2 separate regions of the Homo sapiens genome follow, and region 1 is linked to region 2. Evidence: promoter capture Hi-C in human tissues and cell types (Jung and others, 2019). All regions are on one chromosome and are shown on one strand. The core of a region is centred on a gene start or on the middle of the fragment in contact, and the rest is flanking DNA. Distances in the headings are between cores, read along the strand shown.

The links. Contacts are between HindIII fragments. The study calls those that stand out against the background at their distance.
Region 1: a fragment that was not itself captured here is called in contact with the fragment with the promoter of PCDHA11 in region 2 in 2 of the 25 tissues and cell types used here (mesendoderm cells and neural progenitor cells).

The regions. Positions count from the first base shown.
Region 1 is chr5:141,054,690-141,059,753 of GRCh38, forward strand. It overlaps PCDHB1 (protocadherin beta 1), which reads left to right. Exons shown (of 1, transcript NM_013340.4): 1 at 1-4,657. It overlaps PCDHB1-AS1 (PCDHB1 antisense RNA 1), which reads right to left. Exons shown (of 4, transcript NR_105056.2): 2 at 3,061-3,161. It also overlaps PCDHB@. Among named protein-coding and RNA genes, the nearest start is that of PCDHB1, 5.8 kb to the left of the region's middle. The HindIII fragment of the contact is 4,957 bases long and covers 1-4,502 here.
Region 2 is chr5:140,865,840-140,870,410 of GRCh38, forward strand. It overlaps PCDHA11 (protocadherin alpha 11), which reads left to right and starts at 3,118. Exons shown (of 4, transcript NM_018902.5): 1 at 3,118-4,571. The coding sequence starts at 3,265. All of the region lies in intron 1 of PCDHA1 (protocadherin alpha 1), which reads left to right. All of the region lies in intron 1 of PCDHA2 (protocadherin alpha 2), which reads left to right. The region is part of intron 1 of PCDHA3 (protocadherin alpha 3); the gene reads left to right. It also overlaps PCDHA4, PCDHA5, PCDHA6, PCDHA7, PCDHA8 and PCDHA9, and 3 more genes. RefSeq lists an enhancer at 4,231-4,571. The HindIII fragment of the contact is 18,501 bases long and covers 1-4,571 here.

The DNA.
Region 1 (5,064 bases), core at 774-3,273, 190 kb after region 2:
TTTTTTTTTTTTTTTTTTTTTGAGACGGAGTTTTTCTCTTGTTGCCCAGACTGGAGTGCAATGGCACGATCTCGGCTCACTGCAACCTCTGCCTCCTGGGTTCAAGCGATTCTCCTGCCTCAGCCTCCTGAGTAGCTAGGATTACAGGCATGCGCCACCATGCCCAGCTAATTTTTTGGTATTTTTAGTAGAGACGGGGTTTCACCATGTTGGCCAGGCTGGTCATGAACTTCTGACCTCAGGTGATCCACCAGCCTCGGAAACCCAAAGCACTGGGATTACAGGCATAAGCCACCACGCCCAGCCAGATTTGATTTCTTGATTGTTTGGAGCCATAGGCAAGTCTCAAATCTCCCTCTTTTATATCCAGATGTCTATCCTTGCAGTCCCAGAGAAAATCTATTTGAAAAAACGGAAATGGAGGGTGGGTGAGGAAAAAAATAAAGTATGACGGCTGGGCACCGTGGCTCATGGCTGTAATCTCAGCACTCTGGGAGACGGAGGGAGGCAGATCACCTGAGGTCAGGAGTTCGAGATCACCCTGGCTAACATGGCAAAACCCTATCTCTACTAAAAATACAAAAATTAGTCAGTCGTGGTGGCACGCACCTGTAATCCCAGGTACTCAAGAGGCTGAGGCTGGAGAATCGCTTGAACCTGGGAGGTGGAGGTTGCAGTGAGCTGAGATTGTGCCACTGCACTCCAGCCTGGGCAACAGAGTGAGACGCTGTCTCAAAAACATAAAAATAAATACATAAATACATAAATACATAAGGCCTGCTGTAGTTAATAAGTGTTACAGAACACTCTAAACTATTTTGTGCCATTAAGTGTACACAACATTTATTGTAAACCATTTTGTAGTTTGTAGAGCAAATATAAAATAAAAAGACATTAAAATTAAAAAGTTCATTAATACTAATTAAGTGGCATTAAGGAAAGACACATTTTCAGGTAGTACTAGATTTGATTGTAAGCCATTTTCCTCTCTGAGTATTCTGAAGTTAACACATGCAAACTGAGAAAAAGTGGCATTTTTAGTAAATCATTCATAAAATGAAATGGAGTGGGGAGACAACTTAAGCTTCTCTTTGATCACCACTGTTTGATTTCATAAGCTATTCTGAGCCCTCTCATTCTAAAATAAGCCAATGTTAAAACATTAACATATTTCAGGGATTCTCCCAACACTGCTAACTGTGCCTTGAAAGTCAAAAGTTTGCTTTAGAGAAGGGCATGGTGGCTCATACCTGTAGTCCCAGCTACTCAGGAGTCTGAAGGAGGAGGATTGCTCAAGCCCAGGAGTTCAGGGGTGCAGTAAGCTATGATTGCACTTCTGCACTCCAGCCTGGGCAAAAGAGTGAAACCTCATCTCAAAAAAAAAAAAAGTGTGCTTTAATGAGGCTTTAATTATATTCCTTATTTTATAAAAATGTGTGTAAATTCAGACTCACTAGAATACATCCTCTTGGTATTTTAAGGGTAGAGCATTATCTTTTAAAATACTTCTTAAATATACCAAATCATGTTTATTGATACAAACTTCATTCTTGGACTTAATGACTGATACCTAATGGCACCACCTGGCTGTTTACCTGTTGGCCAGGAATACACTAAAATTTAGTGCTGTTATTTTTTAGATGTTAGAGATGCTTAGGGCAGAACTGGTGTAACCTATGGCTGCCTTCAATGTTAAAATGTTAAAGAACAGATGAAGCAAATGCACTATATCAATGAATTGCTTTTATTTTTAATATTAAATATTTTACATACATTGAGTTATGATTCCGATTTAGAGTAAAGGTTTTCTTGCACAAAACATAGAATAAGTGTTCCAGTGTATTTGTGTTCCAATTGGTGAAGGCATGCTGAAATTTCTATTTCCTTTAAATGAAAAAGGAGATAGAATTTTTATTTATTTATTTATTTTTTGGAGACAAAGTCTTGCTCTGTCACCCAGGCTGGAGTACAGTGGCATGATCTCGGCTCACTGCAAACTCCGTCTCCTGGGTTCAAGTGATCTTCCTGCCTCAGCCTCCTGAGTAGCTGGGACTACAGGTATACATTACCACGCCCAGCTAAATTTTGTGTTTTTAGTAGAGACGGGGCTTCGCCATGTTGGCATTTCGCTATGTTGGCCAGGCTGGTCTCGAGCTCCTGATCTCAGGTGATCCACCCGCCTTGGCCTCCCAAAGTGCTAGGATTACAGCACCATGCCCAGCCTAGAATTAATTTTTATGGGTAAGCAATAATTAGTTAATAAAACATGCTTAAGTAAAAGCTACTGTATTAACTGTGTTTCATTACACTTAATGATGTGAACATAATCAATGGAAACTGGCTTAATGTCAAGGATAGGAAAAGAAAATGGTGTAGATTCATGATTTTAAGACTTTGATATTCAAATAGCAGTGAAATTCATGAATACATATATACACACATACACAATGGACAGAAGATGTAGATTTGTCAACTTTTTATTTTTTCACATTAAATGAGATAAAATCTACCACTTCACGCCACCATTATTCCATAAACGAAATGGCATTTTAATATAAAAATGGTTAAGATAGGCTGGGCATGGTGGCTCACACCTGTAATACCAGTACTTTGGGAGGCTGAGGCAGATGGATCACAAGGTCAAGAGATGGAGACCATCCTGGCCAACATGGTGAAACCATGTCTCTATTAAAAATACAAAAATTAGCTGGGTGTGGTGGTATGTGCCTGTAGTCCCAGCTACTTGGGAGGCTGAGGCAGGAGAATTGCTTGCACCCAGGAGGTGGAGGTTGCAGTGAGCTGAGATCATGCCACTGCACTCCAGCCTGGCGACAAAGCAAGACTCTGTCTCAAAAAAAAAAAAAAAAAAGAAAAAAAGAAAAAAGAAAAAAAAAGGTAAGATAACAATCTCATAAAAGAAACCATCCTTTAAATTTAAAAAATGTATCGATTTAATAAAAAATTATTTTGCCACCATTTTTCTTATTTTTGCCTTAGGTGAAAATTTTGTCACTCTAATTTTATTCAGACTTCAAGTTCCCAAGAAAATTCCAATCCTACCTGATAACTTAAAATAAGAATATATCAATTCACTGAATGTGAAGTAGGCCACTTGTTTTTGGAGAGAACTCTGTACACCAGCTGAGATTAAGTCCAGGTCTCTATCAGCAAATTAAGACAAAGAATGGAAATAATTAGGGCAATTACTCTCTCCAAAGTGTCAAGTGATATTATAACTATTTCTATGTATTCAAAGCTATAACCTAAGAACCTTGAAAAGTGTCTTGTACAAAAAGGCTTTTTATTAGGAAATAATTCTAGACTCATAAAATTGCAAAAATACTATAGATAGTTCCTGTATATCCTTCACCTAACTTCCCGGAATGCTAACATCTTATATAACCATAGTAGTTATCAAAATTAAGAAATTAACCTTGGTATAATTCTATGAAGTAAACTACAGATCTTATTCAAATTTAACAGTTTTCCCCCAATGTCCTTTTTCTATTCAAGGATCCAATCCAGGATCCTGCAAAGCATTTGTTATGGCTCCTTAGTCTCTACCACCTGTGACAGTTCCTTACTCTTACCTTGTCTATCATGACTTGAGATTTTTGAAGAGTACTAGCCAGTTATTTGTAGAATGCCCCTCAGTTTGGGATTCTTTGTTTTCTCATTATTAAACTGAGGTAATGCATTATTGGGAAAAATACTGCAGAAATGATATTGTATCCTTTTCAGTGCATCACGTCAGCAGGTATGTGATGCCAATGTCACACTACTGGTGATATTAATCTTTTTTCTTTTATTGTGGTAAAGAACTTATAAAATGTACCATGTTAGCCATTTTTAAGTATGTTAGCCATTTTTAAGTAATGTTAAGGTGATGTTAATTTTGATCGCTTGGTTAACATAATGTCTGCCACGTTTCTCTACTATAAAGTTACTTTTTTCTCTTTGTAATTAATAAACACTTGGGGGATATGCTTTGAAACTATGCAAATATGATGTTTCTGCTTAAACCAATTTTAGTATCCATTGCTAGATATTTCCTGTGGCAATTAATATTGTGGCATTCTAATGGTGATTTTCTATTTCTCTATTTCCTTTTACATTAATTAAAATTCTTCTGGAAGGAAAACTTGTTACTTTCCCCCCCACTTATTTAGTTAGTTATTTCTTTACATAAGGATACCTGGATATCTCCTCTATTATTTGGGTTACAAACTAATCCTATCATTTACTTTGTTGTTCAGCAAACTCTTTTATCTGAGATGAAGAGCAGATTTTTAAGACTGGAATTATCCATATAGAATACATTTTTATCAAAATTAGTATTTCTTTGTAACTCTACATGTTAGATTATTTTAAACAATCATAAAGTAACCCCATTAAGGTTCATGCATAAAGTTTTAACTTTAAATGAAAATTATACTAACATAATTTTAAATTAGTCATACATTTTAAAATAGATATAAACTGAAAATTTTAAAATTTGTTGTGCAGACATGTTTATATAGTTTAAGCTATATATACCTGAGATACTATTTAAAAATAGACTTATATGCTGAAATTAGACTTACAGATATACAAAAAATGGAATTGGTCTGTCTGATATTATGTAATTCTCCTAAAAATAAAGAATTTCTTTATCATGTTTGTGCATTTTTTGTTGTTTTCCATTTAGGGATGAATTTGTCTTATTCTTGGAAGCATAATTCATTCATATGATTATCCCATATAAATAGCTATTTTCTGTAGAGTTTAATATCTTCAAAGTATGTGACTAAGTGGACATTCATTCTTCAACCAAAAGTCTGACTTCATTTTCAAATATGTGTAACACTTTTAAAAAACATTATTAAAGTATTTGTTGTGTTTATATAACACTGAAACAGGCCGGGCATGGTGGCTCACACCTGTAATCCCAACACTTTGGGAGGCCAAGGTGGGGAGATCACCTGAGGTCAGGAGTTCGAGACCAGCCTGGCCAACACGGTGGAAACCCCTCTCTACTAAAAATACAAAAATTAGCCAGGCATGGTGGCTCACACCTGTAGTCCC
Region 2 (4,571 bases), core at 1,868-4,367:
GTCATTTCTCTGCTCAAACATGGTCTCGGCTAGGAAAATCAAGCACAAATTGTGTACAGGCAAATCTTTCTTTCTGTTGTGCTTAGAAGAAACTTCATGATTGTCTTCATCATTAATTTTGTACAATGTGTGATTGAGATGGCACTAAGTTTTTTTATGTTAAGTGATTTTTTTCTTGTAAGAGTTCGTGATCATCATTATCATTTGTTTTAATCAATGCCACACTGAGATAGGTATTTTGGTTATGTAATTGTTAAGTAATTAAGAGTTGCCTTATAAGAACTACGTATCTGTTGTTTGGAAGTGATATAAGTAAGAATCGTTTAACATGTAAGAAAAGTCAGAAAACTGTGGTTTCCAATATCCTTGTGGAACACCTAAACTAAATACTATATACCAAAAATGACACCCTTCTTTCTTTACTGTGAATAAAGACAGTGTTTGGGACAAGTATAGATGTTGATATTATTATTTCAGGGACCCTGAACTTGGCCAAAGGATTCAAGAAATGTTTACAATATTGCATACTTCAATAACAATTTTAAAGACATAGATTCCCATGAAAATCTTCAAATGTGTGTAGGTCTTTCAGTCTTCTTCAGTCTTATTGTTGGCTGGGAAGCTCATAACAACTGACAAATGATTTGTGACCAAATAACTGTTTTTACTTGACTAAGCCATGATAGAGCAGAATTAGCATCACGGAATAAATCCTATAATTTTGTTAATACAGTGGTTGGATAATGTAATTCTAATCTGTTGGTTTTGGAGAACCTCCTGGGGTTCTGACAACGGTGTCAAAATTTATTTATGTGTTTTCAAGAAATAATAGCACTAGGTCTGTTAGAATATCAGTGGATGACGTGCACTAGTAAGACATTAAACTATGCACTCTAATACTTATATGACTAACAGGACATACAGGCAGATTGTATGTCCTGACTGATATAGTAAAAGTCAGGCACAAAGTTCCTTAATCTTCAATTGATTTTACAAAATCAGTTAACAATAACTGTATTGAAATGACTTCTTGGTATTAGCCTATACCCAGATATTAGGCTGATCCTCAAAGATGAGTTCAAAGGGCGCATAATCTCTTCACTAGGGGCTGGTTGAGATGGTGACATCTGAAATATCACAGCCAAAATGCAAAAGATGGGTCATTGATTCATACACTATATCAAACTCTTTTATGACTTGGCGTTTGTTCAGTACTACTTTATATATTCACAAAATACTGTATTGTTGGAAATTAACACCTAAATTAACATATTGTTTTAATTCAAATATGTGATATTATCATTTTTCCAGAGTAAACCTTCTAAGGTTCATTTCCCTACCTCGCAAGACTCCACATTCCATGTAACATCTTCATCCCCAATTCCCATAATAAGGTGATTGAGGATCTGTTGTTTCCTTTTGTTCAAAATAAACCTGATGTGCTTCAAATATCATGTTGAATATACTGTCATCTGGTCTAATGTTATGTTTTGATTAGAGGCTACTATGATTGATTATTTTACAGATGCGTAATGGAATTAACGGTTATAAAAGTTGATATGTCTCCTTTAATTTTTTAATACAGAATTTTGCATTTACCTGAATTAGAGTTCTAGTGTTATGACAACATTGGGAAAAGAGTAAATATGAAAAAAGTAGAACAAAATCTCAAATTAATAGTTGAATATATATATAAAATATTAGCATACACATATGATAACTTTTTCATATGCCCTTGCAGTATTTTTAGATTGGAGATAAACCATCAAAACTATAGAACAAAATATTTAAGCTAGAGTGATATTTATTCTAAATCACTTTCTACTCTAAAATTTTGTTGCATCTTCTTTTTTTCCTCCTAAATCCTAAGGGTATATGAAAAGACAAAGAAAATTCAAGCAAGTTACAACTTCAGGCAAAGAAAACTCTCATAAGCAATTCCTGTATTTTACTTAGCATTTTCTATGAAATTCCATTTCCACAAGCACTAAGGTAATTTACCATTTAGTTGAATTGTTTGATTAATTTTCTATGTTTTAAGCACAATATCAGGTACTTACAGAAGGTATAATTAAAAATCACTTCCCTTGTTTTCCATGAACTTCTGCTCCCAAACCCAAAATTCTTTCAACAAGAAACAAACTATTTTCATGAATATAACTGAATTAGATTAAGGAAACCAATGTTGGTGACTTGGAAATACCAATATGGCACAAAGATGTTCAGGGTGATTTTATTTATTTTATAAAATGATAATAAAATTTATTTTATAGTTGAAAAGCCTATTTCTGTCATATCATTGATTCTGTTACATAAAGTGCTAAATTTTGATATCTCATATTATGCTACTATGGCTTACATTAGAAATAATATATGTCAAATAAAAACTCATCTAGATCAATAGACTTTTCCTTTGTGGATTCTTTTTTAAAACTACCAAGTTTGAGAATATGAATATATTTGTTTTTCATATTGTTCTGCAATGAATATAAAGTCACTTATAATCAGAAAGCAATTAAATGTAAATAACAGTAAAGAATGAGAACTATAGAAAATAGATATGAAAATGCAAGCCCACAGAGATGAGAATAGATCATGTGGAACATAAACACTAAAGAGCTGCTTTTATAAAACTTCAATTTTTTCTTTGAGTTCCCTAGCAGCCAAAGTAACAAGGGAGACTGAAAGTAAAACAATTCAAATTTGATAGTATTTTTATATGAGGAACAACACTTTCAGGAAATGTTTAACCCTAGTTTTTCATGAGGCCACCTTAACAACTGAATTCTCTTTCTCTCTCACTCTGTGTATAAGTATTTTAGATAAGTAAAAGAACAATGTTATAATGTTAAGTCAAACATAGACACAATAATTTAAATTTGATGTTAATCGAGAAATACAATGCCATTTCCATATATATTTAGTTTCAATATGACTTATAATCTGAATATTCCATAAATAAGCACGTTGGAAATATTTGGGGGAAGAAACCCAAAACACGTGAAATTCTGTGGTGGTAAATGCAGTGCACAGTACTCACAGTTTTAGGCGCAAGGTGTCGCTCTTTACTTGGTGGAAAGTTCATTTAAAGGTTGGTCTGAACAGTGAGGCACTCCCATACAAAGGAACTCCATCATACCGGATGCCACCGTTTAAGGATCCTTTGAAACTTCTTAAGAATTCAACGAGATTTTTAACCTGAAACTGAAGAATCTGGTACTGTAAGTGTAAAGAAGCTTATTTTGGAAGCCAATTTCGTATGCGATGTTTGGTTTTCAGAGAAGGGGATTGGGCACCCCACGACTACAGCTCTGGCTTCTCCTCCTCGAATTCTGGGAGGTGGGGAGCGGCCAGCTCCACTACTCCGTCTCGGAGGAGGCCAAACACGGCACCTTCGTGGGCCGCATCGCGCAGGACCTGGGGCTGGAGCTGGCGGAGCTGGTGCAGCGCCTGTTCCGGGTGGCGTCCAAAACACATGGGGACCTTCTGGAGGTAAATCTGCAGAATGGCATTTTGTTTGTGAATTCTCGGATCGACCGCGAGGAGCTGTGCGGGCAGAGCGCGGAGTGCAGCATCCACCTGGAGGTGATCGTGGACAGGCCGCTGCAGGTTTTCCATGTGAACGTGGAGGTGAAGGACATTAACGACAACCCGCCGGTGTTCTCGCTCAGAGAACAAAAGCTGCTGATTGCGGAATCTAAGCAATCGGACTCGCGTTTTCCACTAGAGGGAGCTTCTGATGCTGACATTGAAGAGAATGCTCTATTGACCTACAGGCTAAGTAAAAATGAGTATTTTTCTTTAGATTCACCAACAAATGGTAAGCAGATTAAAAGACTGTCACTTATTTTAAAGAAGTCTCTGGATAGAGAGAAAACTCCGGAACTTAATTTGCTGCTAACAGCTACAGACGGGGGAAAACCAGAGCTTACTGGCACCGTTCGGCTGTTAGTCCAAGTCTTGGATGTCAACGACAATGATCCAGAGTTTGATAAATCAGAATATAAGGTGAGCCTTATGGAAAATGCTGCTAAAGAAACTCTTGTGCTCAAACTAAACGCCACAGACCGAGACGAAGGAGTCAATGGAGAGGTAACATACTCCTTAATGTCAATTAAGCCCAATGGAAGACACTTATTTACACTAGATCAAAATAATGGAGAAGTGAGGGTCAATGGAACTTTAGATTATGAAGAAAACAAGTTTTATAAAATTGAAGTACAGGCTACAGATAAGGGGACTCCCCCAATGGCAGGTCACTGTACAGTCTGGGTGGAAATCTTGGACACCAACGATAACTCTCCTGAAGTCGCCGTGACTTCCTTGTCCCTCCCAGTACGAGAGGACGCTCAGCCCAGCACGGTCATTGCCCTGATCAGCGTGTCTGACCGTGACTCAGGTGTCAACGGACAGGTGACCTGCTCGCTGACGCCCCACGTTCCCTTCAAGCTGGTGTCCACCTTCAAGAATTACTACTCGTTGGTGCTGGACAGCGCCCTGGACCGCGAGAACGTGTGGGCCTATGAACTGGTGGTGACTGCGCGGGATGGGGGTTCGCCTTCTCTGTGGGC